Regions from separate parts of the Homo sapiens genome. Here region 1 is linked to region 2. The links are contacts of gene promoters, found by promoter capture Hi-C in human tissues and cell types (Jung and others, 2019). All regions are on one chromosome and are shown on one strand. The core of a region is centred on a gene start or on the middle of the fragment in contact, and the rest is flanking DNA. Distances in the headings are between cores, read along the strand shown. Region 1 overlaps LMCD1-AS1 (LMCD1 antisense RNA 1). Region 2 holds the start of OXTR (oxytocin receptor).

Region 1 (6,688 bases), core at 2,718-5,217, 330 kb after region 2:
GCCTCCACCTCCCGGGTTCAAGTGATTCTCCTGCCCAGCCTCCTGAGTAGCTGGGTCTACAGGCGTGCACCACCATGCCCAGCTAATTTTTGTATCTTTTTTTTTTTTGTTGGAGAAACGAGGTTTTGCCATATTGGCCAGACTGGTCTCAAACTCCTGACCTCAAGTGATCTGCCCGCCTCGGCCTCCCAAAGTGCTGGGATTACAGGCATGAGACACCTTGCCTGGCCACCTTAATGAATTAAAGTTAGTTCTATTCAGAAATCTTGCTGAGGGCTATAGACAGAGGCCTATAGGCTGGGAACAGCGCTGTCAGAGTTGCTTCTGCAATGCAGTATTCCCATTCACAGTTTATATACAGGTGGTGAAGATTCAGGGCGTTCAAAATCACATCAAAGTTTGGGTGTGAGAGTGCATCTGATGACAGATTGCAGAGGCATAATCACAACACCCCGCCCCCAAGCCAGACGTTATCTTACCTATAGGGCAAGGCAAGGATTACCATCATTCATCTTTTTTTTTTTTTAAATTAATTTATTTTTTATTGATCATTCTTGGGTGTTTCTCACAGAGGGGGATTTGGCAGGGTCACAGGACAATAGTGGAGGGAAGGTCAGCAGATAAACAAGTGAACAAAGGTCTCTGGTTTTCCTAGGCAGAGGACCCTGCGGCCTTCCGCAGTGTTTGTGTCCCTGGGTACTTGAGATTAGGGAGTGGTGATGACTCTCAACGAGCATGCTGCCTTCAAGCATCTGTTTAACAAAGCACATCTTGCACCGCCCTTAATCCATTTAACCCTGAGTGGACACAGCACATGTTTCAGAGAGCACAGGGTTGGGGGTAAGGTCACAGATCAACAGGATCCCAAGGCAGAAGAATTTTTCTTAGTACAGAACAAAATGAAAAGTCTCCCATGTCTACCTCCTACTACACAAACACGGCAACCATCCGATTTCTCACTCTTTTCCCCACCTCTCCCCACTTTCTACTCCACAAAACCGCCATTGTCATCATGGCCCGTTCTCATTGAGCTGCCGGGCACACCTCCCAGACGGGGTGGTGGCCGGGCAGAGGAGCTCCTCACTTCCCAGTAGGGGTGGCCGGGCAGAGGCGCCCCTCACCTCCCGGACGGGGCGGCTGGCCGGGCAGGGGGCTGACCCCCCCACCTCCCTCCCGGACGGGGCGGCTGGCCGGGCAGAGGGGCTCCTCACCTCCCAGTAGGGGCGGCCGGGCAGAGGCACCCCCACCTCCCAGACGGGGCGGCTGGCCGGGCAGAGGGGCTCCTCACTTCCCAGTAGGGGTGGCCGGGCAGAGGCGCCCCTCACCTCCCGGACGGGGCGGCTGGCCGGGCAGGGGGCTGACACCCCCACCTCCCTCCCGGATGGGGCGGCTGGCAGGGTAGAGGGCTGACCCCCCCACCTCCCTCCCGGACGGGGCGGCTGGCCGGGCAGAGGGGCTCCTCACTTCCCAGTAGGGGCGGCCGGGCAGAGGCGCCCCCCACCTCCCAGAGGGGGCGGCTGGCCGGGCGGGGGGCTGACCCCCCCACCTCCCTCCCGGACGGGGCGGCTGGCCGGGTGGGGAGCTGACCCCCGCACCTCCCTCCTGGACGGGGCGGCTGGCCTGGCGGTGGGTGACCCCCACCTCCTTCCTGGACGGGGTGGCTGCCGGGTGGTGACGTTCCTCACTTCTCAGACGGGGCGGCTTCCGGGTGGAGGGGCTCCTCACTTCTCAGACGGGGCGGCCGGGCAGAGACGCTCCTCACCTCCCAGACGGGGTCGCGGCCGGGCAGAGGCGCTCCCCACATCTCAGACGATGGGCGGCGGGGCAGAGACGCTCCTCACTTCCCAGATGGGATGGCGGCCGGGAAGAGGCGCTCCTCACTTCCTAGATGGGATGGTGGCCGGGAAGAGGTGCTCCTCACTTCCTAGATGGGATGGCGGCCGGGCAGAGACGCTCCTCACTTCCCAGATGGGATGGCGGCCGGGAAGAGGCGCTCCTCACTTCCTAGATGGGATGGTGGCCGGGAAGAGGTGCTCCTCACTTCCTAGATGGGATGGCGGCCAGGCAGAGACGCTCCTCACTTCCCAGATGGGATGGCGGCCGGGAAGAGGCGCTCCTCACTTCCTAGATGGGATGGTGGCCGGGAAGAGGTGCTCCTCACTTCCTAGATGGGATGGCGGCCGGGCAGAGACGCTCCTCACTTTCCAGACTGGGCAGCCAGGCAGAGGGGCTCCTCACGTCCCAGATGATGGGCGGCCAGGCAGAGACGCTTCTCACTTCCCAGACGGGGTGGCGGCCGGGCAGAGGCTGCAATCTCGGCACTTTGGGAGGCCAAGGCAGGCGGCTGGGAGGTGGAGGTTGTAGCGAGCCGAGATCACGCCACTGCACTCCAGCCTGGGCACCATTGAGCACTGAGTGAACCAGACTCCGTCTGCAATCCCGGCACCTCGGGAGGCCGAGGCTGGCGGATCACTCGCGGTTAGGAGCTGGAGACCAGCCCGGCCAACACAGCGAAACCCCGTCTCCACCAAAAAAATACGAAAACCAGTCAGGCGTGGCGGCGCCTGCCTGCAATCGCAGGCACTCGGCAAGCTGAGGCAAGAGAATCAGGCAGGGAGGTTGCAGTGAGCCGAGATGGCAGCAGTACAGTCCAGCTTCGGCTCGGTATCAGAGGGAGACCGTGGAAAGAGAGGGAGAGGGAGACCGTGGGGAGAGGGAGAGGGGGAGGGGGAGGGGGAGGGGGAGGGAGAGGGCAGTGTGTAACCTTTGTAACTTCACTTCAGCCTCTCATCATTCATCTTTTAAGGAATACAATGACTCAGGCAAGAGATGCAGGAGGCCGCGTGCTATAGCCTGTTCAATGTTGAGAGCATTTTTCTGGAGAGCTGCATGTCATCACAGAGTCAGGGTTTTTGTGAAATTCTGCTCACAAACAAAAGGGGGCAAACTCGACTTCTTAAGTTTGGTGCTTTATCTCACACCTGGAACTCCATGACCTTCTTCCCCCTGCCTGGCAAAGTCATTCCTGGAACCTTGCCACCCACAAGCCAGTGACTCTGTGAGTCCGCCCTGCCCTGATCAGACCCAGCCAGGCACTTGTTCCTCTCGCGCCTCCAGACACTTCTTATTTCTCTTTAACTCCTTTTTCAGCCCCTCATTTAATCAACACTAATTACCAAAAACCCACTGCATATCAGGCACCTATTATACTGGATTTTAGAGTCATATATTCACATGCCTGTGTTCCCCAGTGAACAGTGAAATCTTCAACTCTCCCTTCTTCCCCATGTCCTCACTTTCTCTTTTATATTTCAGATGCCAATGCACAATTGGCACACAGCATGTTCTAAATCATTATTTTTAATACCCTTTTTCCAGTGTGAAACTCAAAAGAGTCATAAATGTGGAAAATGTCAGCCCCCTTGACCCTTGAGCAGATGAATGCGATTGGCCGCTTAGAACTGGACTGCTACCCTTAAAAGTATACCCCAGGTAGCCATGCATTTGACCAAAATTCGTAAAGCATACAAATCTATGGCTAGTTCAACTTAACATGAAATAGCAAAAGAAGCAACCAGATAGTTGGAGGAAATGTGCAATGAGTTTTTTGGGGGGGTTTAAAACTCAGGAGAATAGAAAGTTGTAGTATGGACTTTAACCATTTCATCTCCCTGCTTTAAAAAACATTAAGCTCAGCCAGGTGCAGTGGCTCACGCCTGTAATCCCAGCACTTTGGGAGGCCGAAGTGGGCAGATCACCTGAGGTCGGGTGTTCCAGACCAGCCTGGTCAACATGGTGTAACCCCGTCTCTACTAAAAATGTAAAAATTAGCCGGGCATGGTGGCACATGCCTGTAATCCCAGCTACTCAGGAGGCTGAGGCAGGAGAATCGCTTGAACCCAGGAGGCGGAGGTTGCAGTGAGCTGAGATAGCACCATTGCACTCCAGCCTGGGCGACAGAGTGAAACTCTGTCTCACAAAAAACAAACAAATAAACAAACAAACAAAAACAAAGAAAGCTCCCATTTGCAAAATACAGTGATTTTTAATTTTTTGACTGTACCTCAGTTGTAAAACAAAAAACCCAAAAAGTACAACAACGAAGAATCTCTCAGCTGTGTGTCACTTACAAATAGTCTATGTGTCTTAAATCAGTATATATTATTTCATTGTAAAGCACACACAAGTAGAAATTTAAGAATAATGAGAAAAAGTAAACATAAATAAGAGATGAATGTTTTTCTCCTATACCCCAGGGGATCATCCCAGTCCTCCTCTTGGGCCACTTTGAGAAGCACTTATTCTAAAAGGTCTGACTTTCAGTCCTGGTTGAGAGAATAAATTCACAGTACTGAAGGTCTGTCTCCTCTTAGAAGTTGTGCATTTTACCAGCAGACTTTTAATTTAAGTCCAAAGGAATGAATTTTTAATGATAAAATTTCAGACACAGCAAGGGGGCTGGAAAACTTCAGACAGAGGAAGCTTTCCTTTCTCATTAATTCTGCAAGATTTATTGAGTGCTTCCTATGTACTAGGCTCTGCACTAGGCACCAAGAATATTGCATGAACAAACATCCAAGCCTGCTTTCCTGTTGGTAGACTGGCAAACACCAGTTTCTGATCAGCCTTGTTCACAGGAGTCATTGCACTTGGTCATGAGCTCTTCAACGAAAACCCTGGAATCACTGGTTTTTACATTTTCTCCATTCCTTGCTCAGTGAAATATCCCTCGGGGGTGTCACAAATGCACATTTCTCAAGATGCTTCTCAGAATTAAAAGAACATTGGAGACGTGATGAAAGGGTGAATGGCTCGCTCAGAATTTAGCGGGGTTGCCAGACCATGACACAGATGTCCCCTAAACCATCTGGGAAACTTCAAAAACATTCTGGCTTAGTCTTCTGGGGACTTTGTGTCCCATTTATTGTGCAGAAGGAGCAAACTGTGGCCTCTGTCAGTGTTTCCGCTGGGTCCTTGAGGAGCTCTCTGTGCTGATCTGATATGTTATGGTTAGGACTGCACCAAGGGGCAGGCTGAGGAATCTCCACGACTTGATGCAGAACTTGAGCCACCCGGCAGAAATCTGGCCAAAGTGCCACAGTTCGAATTGTTTTTGGTAATAGAAGTTAGAAGAGCAATAGAGAGTGAAGAATTCCTTTGGGCATAGATGGTCATTCCCCTTTGGAAATGAAACTTTGTTAGTTACTCTAAATGGCCTGAAAATTAAATAGCTCTGTGTGTGTATGTGTGTGTGTGTGCATGCGTGTGTACGTGCTTGCTTGCACCTGCAAGTGTGGGTGGTTATGGGGACATCTGGGAGGCAGTGCAGGACACTTCTTTTTTTTGTTTTTGAGACGAAGTCTTGCTCTGTCACCCAGGCTGGAGTGCAGTGGCACCATCTCAGCTCACTGCAAGCTCTGCCTCCCAGGTTCACACCATTCTCCTGCCTAAGCCTCCCGAGTAGCTGGAAATACAGGCGCCCGCCACCATGCCCAGCTGATTTTTTGTATTTTTAGTAGAGACAGGGTTTCACCGTGTTAGCCAGGATGGTCTCGATCTCTTGACCTCATGATCCGCCCGCATCAGCCTCCCAAAGTGCTGGGATTACAGGCATAAGCCACTGCGCCCAGCCAGGACAATTTTTAAGAACCCAGAATTGCATTGAGTCCTGGCTCCACCAGTGCATAACATGAGGATTACATAAGGCATTTGGTGCCCCAATTTCTCCATCTGTAAAATGGGGCTAGTTTTGTCAGGTTTTGTAGGTTTGCAGATTTGTTGTAAAGATCAAACAATCTTATCTAGTGATTGTACAATTGATGTTTTAAGATCTCATAATTCAAATGCATCTTCCAAGCAACAATGTTACAGTAGTTTGCTAGGCCTGCTCTACAAAGTACCAGAAACTGAGAGGCTTCAACAACAGAAATTTATTGTCCCCCAGGTCTGGAGGCTGGAAGTCTGAGATCATGGTGCATGCAGAGCCACAATCCCTCTGAAGGTGCTAGAGAAGGGTCTGTTCCAGGCTTTTCTCTGAGCTTCTGGTAGCTCCTCAGTTTCTGGCAGGAGAACTCCAATCTTCACATTGCGTTCTTCGTGTGTGTGTGTGTCTTCACTTGAAGTTCTTTTCATATGAACACAAGTCACGTTGGAGTAGGGGTCTGCTCTACTCCAGTGTGACCTCATTTTAACTAATTGCATCCAATGATTTTATTTCCAAATAAGGTCAGATTCTGAGATACTGGGGATTAGGACTTCAATACAGGAATTTTGAGGGGACACGATTTAACCCATAACAAGTGTCTTACTACGATAATTCATAATAATTTTTTTCTTTTGAATTAATGACATGTCTTATAAGTTATGGCACCTCAAAGTCACTGAAAGACAGTGGATTAATCCCTATGAAGCTCTTAGCCCAACACCTGCTGTATAGTGAACACTCAATGAATGATAATAATTGTCATTACTAATACGATAGTGAGCGTGTTCTCTGTACCTCAGTTTTGTTGTCTGTAAAGTGGGAACAAGAATACCTTCTTGGGAGAATTCTTGCTGCGCTTGAAGGAGGCATTGTGTTTGCTTATGGTCAGCACTTGCTGTCATATTTAGGCACTTAGCAATCCCTTTCCTTTCTTCTTTCACAGCGTCTAGACCGGGATGCAGGCTAAGTCCACAATGCTTAGTA
Region 2 (7,084 bases), core at 4,585-7,084:
TAGCCACATCCGTTGTTAATTGACAACATGTCTATGGAATTAGAAGCCTCGTGTTTATCTCTGTCATCGCTTTCTCTCGGGGAGAATGGCACACAGGGATCAACAACATCCTTTCTCACAAAGAGCCCTCCTTCAACTTGATTTTCATAAAAATACCATTCTAGGAAGCAGGGGTCTGAGTCTGGTGACTCATTTGCTAAGGGGTGTTCTTGGGTAATCCATCAGCCATTTTCTCAACACATTTTCATTCATAGGCATGCATGATAGGAAAATGATGGGCAAATATAGAAAGGACTGTGATATATGGGACTAATTCTAGGCACTTATAACTGGATTGGGAAGACTGAGCACATTCATACTGTAAATATAGTTTTTGGTCATGCTAGAGAGGTTCAGAAAATAATGATTTCTCAGTGGGCCAGGGTGGTCAGGAAAGGCCTCCCTGAAAGGTAAAGAGTCAGTATCCCCATCTCACCAGTTAGGGTTCAAAGGAGTTACTTTCCTTGCCTGGCACAGTGACATTCCCCCTACCTTCCAAGATGCAGTTTGTCTGATTAAATTGAAAATATTATGAACTCCATCCAGAAAGACTAATAAGATGGAGGTTGATTGGATCAGACACTATTTTCATGGAGTGGTCCTGGGGTCAGGATTGTCAGCATGGGAATAAAGATTTGATTGTATAGTTCTCTGCTGTTTGTGAAGCACTCTTCATGTGCATTAAGTTTGGTTTATACACACAGCCTCATGTGATCAGCACCTGGGGAAACCAAGTCTCAGAGAAGTTCAGTACCTTAGCCACGCTGACAAAACGTGGTAAAATCCAGATGCTAGCAAGCACTTACTGCTGCAGATTCAGAGCTCTCTCCAATAGGAAAGCACATTTTTCTCTCTTTCTCCACCCTGCATGGAACACAGGAATGAAAACAAAGGCTGGGAAGTCCAAAATCACACAGGCTAGAAGGAATCCGTGCAAGTTCTACCTATAAGCAGTGGCCTCCTGACACAGCATCCTGGCACGGCCTCAGGAACTTCCCAGGTCAGCCCATGTGCCCTGATGTGCCTGCATCCGCACAGAGCTATAAATGTAAGAAGATCAAGTGTGCCAGCAGCAGGCTGATTGCTACAATGTGTTCTCAGCCTTTATGCCTGAGAGCATGTCACTGACCCCCCTCCTGGAGCTAGGAGCCCAAGCAGAGGCTGAGAAGTTATTTGGGGGCAGGCTGGGGAGGCGGTGATGTTAGGGAGGGGGTAGGTTGGATGTGTTTATAGCTCATTTCCACTCTGACAATAGAGCAAAGGCCGCTTGGGCTTGGATCCATGTTGAAATAAATGTGCCAGGGCTGGAAAATTCCCAAGATGCTAAAACTCAGACCCAGTTCCCAGAGGCAGAAGTGGGTACAGGACAGGTCATTCTCTGGGCAGGATACCTTCCCCAGAGGGCCTGGTTCTGCCCATGGAGATGTTTATTTCTTCCCTCCTTTCCCCCTTCCTTTTATCCTTCTGTATTTAACAAATACCTGAAAGGTGCCTATTCTATAGTGACCTAGGCCTTTCGAAGTACAGGTATAGACAATATTGGCCCCACCTTTAAGATGCTTGGATACAAGAAAAAAACAACCCCATTAAAAAGTGGGCAAAGGACGTGAACAGACACTTCTCAAAAGAAGACATTTATGTGGCCAACAAACGTATGAAAGAAAGGTCAACATCACTGATCATTAGAGAAATGCAAATAAAAACCACAATAAGATACCATCTCATGCCAGTCAGAATGGTGATTATTAAGAAGTCAAGAAACAACTGATGCTGTAAAGGATCTGGAGAAATAGGAATGTTTTTACACTATTGGTGGTAATGCAAATTAGTTCAACCATTGTGGAAGATGGAGTGGCAATTCCTCAAAGACCTAGAACCAGAAAGACCATTTTACCCAGCAATCTCATTACTGGGTATATACCCAAAGGAATATAAATCATTCTATTGTAAAGATACCTGCACATGTATGTTCACTGCAGCACTATTCACTATAGCAAAGACATGAAATCAACCCAAATGCCCATCAATGATAGACTGGATAAAGAAAAAAATGTGAGATATATATATATATATCTATATCTATATAATCTATATATAGATATATATAGATTATATAGATATAGATATATATAGATTATATATATATAGATTATATAGATATATATAGATTATATAGATATAGATATATATAGATTATATATATATAGATATATATAGATTATATATATATAGATATATATAGATTATATATATATAGATATATATAGATATATATATATATAGATATATATAGATATATATGCCATGGAATACTATGCAGCCATAAAAAGGAACAAGATCATGTCCTTTGCAGGATGGATGGAGCTGGAAGCCATTAACCTCAGCAAACTAATACAGGAACAGAAAACCAAACACCACATGTTCTGACTTATAAGTGGGAGCTGAATGATGAGAACACAGACACAGGGAGGGGAACAATACACACTGGGGCCTGTCACGGGGGCAGAGGGAGGGAGAGCATCAGGAAAAATAGCTAATATGTGCTAAGCTTAATACCTAGGTGATGGGTTGATAGGTGCAGCAAACCACCATGGCACACATTTACCTATGTAACAAACCTGCACATACTGCACATGAACTCCAGAACTTAAAATAAAAAAAAAAAAAAGATGCCCGGATACTCAGACAGATGAAGACATTTGTAAATCAGGGATTGCTGAATCTCTGTCTGTGATGGTTCATTTTGTGTGTCAGCTTGGCTGGGCCATGGTGCCCAGATATTTGGTCAAATATTATTCGGGATGTTTCTGTGAGGGTATTTTTGGATGAGATTAACATCTGGAACAAAGTAGATCACCCACCATAACGTTGGTGGGCTTATCCAATCAGTTGAAGGTCTATATGGAACAAAAGACTGACCTCCCTGAGCAAGAAGGAATTCCGCAGCAGAGGACCTTTGGACTTGACCTGCAAAATCAGCTCTTCCCTGGGTCTCCAGCCTGTCAGCTCACTCTGAAGATTTTGGACTTGCCAGCCTCCATAACACATGAACCAATTCCTTAAATGAATCTCTTTCTCTACATATATACATCCCAATGGTTCTGTTTCTTTGGAAGACCGAAAGACACCCTGTAATGTCACATCTTTTGTCCATGCCTACAGCATCTCTTGCCTGGATCTCCAAGGCCTTCATAATGCCAGTATCTCCTTTCCCATCTTCCCTGTGGCTACCAGCATTCTCTCACCAAGCACAGATTTGAGTACGTTGTTTTGCTTGCAGTCCTTCCAGGCACCCCACCTTCCCCACCAATGCCTTCTAACCTCAGTCATCTTTACACTAGCACCTTCATGATTTTTGTTATATCAGACTTTCTCTTTGCTGACGTCAAAAGTAAGCAGAACTGAGAACTGAATTTCCTCCCTGTTATTCAGTATCACTCAATATTAAATTCACATTTAACACTATCAGAAAGTATTCCATCCCATATTTTGGGGAATGTTGGGTTACAGAATAAAACCCATTCTCCTTTACATGGCCTTGAAGTTCCTTTAGCATCAATAAGTACAGTTATCTCTTGGTATCCATGGGGGATTGGTTCCGGGAGCCTTCAAGGTACACAAATCCCTGATATAAAATGAAGCAGTATTTGCATATAACACGTGCATATCCTCTCACATACTTTAAGTCATCTCAAGATTACTTGTAACACCTAATGCAATGTCACTCGTCACTGCATTTGTGTGCATTCAGTGTTGTAGGTGGCACATGACAAATTCAATTTTTGCTTTTTGGAACTTTGAGGATTTTTTTTCCTGAATATTTTCAATCCATGATTGTTTGAATCCACTGAACTCACAGATACAGGGATATAGAGGGCCAACTGTATGTATTAAGTGCTGGCAATGTGCTAGGCACCAAGCAATTCATCTTTAGTCCTTCCTCCAAAACGCCAAAGTGATTCCCCTGCACCACTCTCTGAGAAGTATGCCTTTTTTCTTTGCTTCCTGGAGAACTCATTCTGGAGCTCTGAAATCCAGCTACCTCTTTGTAAAACGATCTCCCAAGTATTACCTCAGCCCCCAGCAGTCCTCACTTCTGTAACATCATTTATTGTTGTCACACTGCAAATATTAGGTTGATGCAAAAGTAATTGCAGTTTTTGCCATTATTTTTAATAGCAAAAACCACAATTACTTTTGCACCAATCTAATATGTGTTTTTCTCCCTGGCCGAAGCTCAAAGGTGAAGGAGCATGTCTTATTCATTGTTAGGAGTTTTCAAGGGGACCTCTCTATTTCCTGCCTGGTTTCTGCACACAATGAGAAATAAAACAAAAGACAGGAAATGGGGATCACACTATTACTGTTGTTGTTATTGTTGTTGTTTAGATTAAAACTAAGTTAGAGAATTTACCTTTTGCATGAGACTAAATAGCCCTGTTAGGTGAATCCAGAATTAGGCTGTCTCACGGGCTACGCGAGGACCACACAGGTAGGCAGGCTTCCCTACAAAGGGTAGAAGAGTCTGTCCTTGGTGAAGTGGCTCAGTAAACTTGCTCCCTAGAAAGCAGCTGTCTTCCAGGAGAAAGAAGGGCAGGCTTGGTTCTACAGGCCAGTGTTTTCCTTCTCACATTCACCGGTCAGGGGCTCATAGGGAAAAATCTGCCTTCATCCAGCCGTGGAGTGAGGCAGGGGTGTTTTACCTGCTAGGATTGAACCCTCAGATTGCACAGATTATACAGTTTCAGAAAACCAGAGGGACAGGACCTCAGACATTAGCTATCTTGACCAGTGCTCTCATTTTACATATGAGGAGACTGAGGCCCAAAGAGAAGGGGCTTGCCCAAGGTCACTTCATTCTCACCTGAGTCGTCTGTAACTTTAATCTGTAATTTTCGAGGCCGATAGGTACTATTGACTAATATTGATTAATACTGCCTGCCACCCCTTGGCAATGCTGTCAAGATTCCCAGCCCCATTCTGGAATGATTACTCAGCTAGAACCCTGGGATCCAGGTGCTGTAAGGTTGGCCCCTGGGATATCTCGGCATGGGGCTGTAATTGTGGATTAAGGAAACCCAGTCCTTGGCTAACTCAAGTCTCTCCACATAATAAAAAGACGGAGAAGTGAAATGTCAGGAGGAAATACACATTTAATGCATTTTAAAGAGCCCTGTTTATTTTTGAATCCTGGCCTTTTTTTCTGACTTAATTCTTGGCCACTGTAAATTACTTCAAAAAATGATTTTAGAATAGAGAAGGGGCAGGGAGGCTGAGAAGCTGTCTTTAACATTTTATCTTCCTTTGGCATCATTTAGAATTTTAATTCCGAAGCGCGACAAGGAGGCAGAAACGGCTCTTGGGCGCAGACAAGCAGAATCACTTTAAATGAAGACAGTGTTGTGCTTCAGAATTTCCTCTAAAACTACCGAAAAAATAACGCCTCTCCCAGCACTGCTTAGAATAGAGGCCATTTCTAATTCCTCATTAACGGGAATAGGAACAAAAGTATTCCAAAGCAAAGACTTATTTGAGTTCACTGCTAAAGCCGCTACATCAAGCTGGAGGTGTGGGGGGAGAGAAAAGCCTGAAAATTAACATCATTTTTGGGAAATAATCAGTTTAAATGCTTTTGTAACTTCATCACTATCTACCCGGGGAAGAACATTATTATTCAAGCCTCCTATGTGTCTCGGAGTCAAGAGCTTCTAAACCAAGAAAGGAAGAAACGGGCGGGTTATTGACGAGTTCCCTCCCTCTCGCAGTTTTAAACCACTGCAAAATAAACCCATTTGTTAAGGCTCTGGGACCAACGCTGGGCGAACCAGCTCCGCTCCGGAGGGGTCTGCGCGGCTGGCCTCGCCCGCCCCCTAGCGGACCCGTGCGATAGTGCAGCCTCAGCCCCAGCGCACAGCGCCGCATCCAGACGCTGTCCGCGCGCGCAGCCTGGGAGGCGCTCCTCGCTCGCCTCCTGTACCCATCCAGCGACCAGCCAGGCTGCGGCGAGGGGATTCCAACCGAGGCTCCAGTGAGAGACCTCAGCTTAGCATCACATTAGGTGCAGCCGGCAGGCCATCCCAACTCGGGCCGGGAGCGCACGCGTCACTGGGGCCGTCAGTCGCCGTGCAACTTCCCCGGGGGGAGTCAACTTTAGGTTCGCCTGCGGACTCGGTGCAGGTAGCTGGGTGCTAAGCAGGGGTGGACGGGATGGCTAGGGCCGGTGGAGCCATCGGGACCCGAGTGGAGGTGGTGGGGTGCCTCGCACTCCTTGTTCCTGGAGGAGCTCGGGGTGTTCCGAGAGATTGTAAAGTGACTTCTCGGGATTGAGACTCAGAGTCCTTGATTATCTGGGTCCAAAGCGCAAGTCAGGGGTTCCAGAACTTTCGAGGCTGCCGGGCTGGGGAGGAGCCCCGCGGGAGGTGTCTATGCCAGGGTCTGGGAACAGCGCTTGGGCATCTTGGGCTTTGAGGCAGGGGTTCCCCCAGCAGGGACTGCAGAACCGGGTTTCCACCGAAGCAGGTGCTGTGGAAGTTCAGGGAGTGACGGCCGACCGTCTTAGAAAAGGGGGTTAGACGGGGAAGGACCAGAGCTGGGGTTTCCCAGGCAAGTGGCTATTTGGGGATTTCCGGAGGAAGTACTTGAATTAATGTTTACTAGGAGAGGGGCTGGTTTGGGGGTCCCGCGGCAGGTGGATATGCTGAGGGTCGGAGCCTGGGGCGAGTAGGTAGTTTGGAGATTCCCTCGGGGAGGTGATTTGGTTTTAGATTCCCACTCCCGGAGGAACGTTGCTGATTTTGACCCTCCCTTCTCCCCCAGTGGAAGCCGCTGAACATCCCGAGGAACTGGCACGCTGGGGGCTCTGGGCTTGTGGCCGGTAGAGGATTCCCGCTCATTTGCAGTGGCTCAGAGGAGGTACCTCCAACGGGGATTTCTGGGGTGGCGGCTGAGCAACCCGAGGCCGGCGGTTGTGCCCTGTTGTTTCAGATGAGTTGGGTTCCTGGGAATGGGACAAGCACGCCCTACCCGCGTCGGAAGAGAAACGCGG

Evidence for each region. The method cuts DNA at HindIII sites, captures the fragments that hold promoters and counts their contacts. A contact is called where the count stands out against the background at its distance.
Region 1: a fragment that was not itself captured here is called in contact with the fragment with the promoter of OXTR in region 2 in 1 of the 25 tissues and cell types used here (stomach).

What each region holds. Positions count from the first base shown.
Region 1 is chr3:8,435,075-8,441,762 of GRCh38, reverse strand. The region is part of intron 3 of LMCD1-AS1 (LMCD1 antisense RNA 1); the gene reads left to right. Among named protein-coding and RNA genes, the nearest start is that of LMCD1-AS1, 63 kb to the left of the region's middle. RefSeq lists an enhancer at 459-976. The HindIII fragment of the contact is 5,752 bases long and covers 1,092-6,688 here.
Region 2 is chr3:8,768,363-8,775,446 of GRCh38, reverse strand. It overlaps OXTR (oxytocin receptor), which reads left to right and starts at 5,834. Exons shown (of 4, transcript NM_000916.4): 1 at 5,834-6,216; 2 at 6,856-6,951. RefSeq lists enhancers at 5,670-5,719, 6,367-7,038. The HindIII fragment of the contact is 11,538 bases long and covers 1-7,084 here.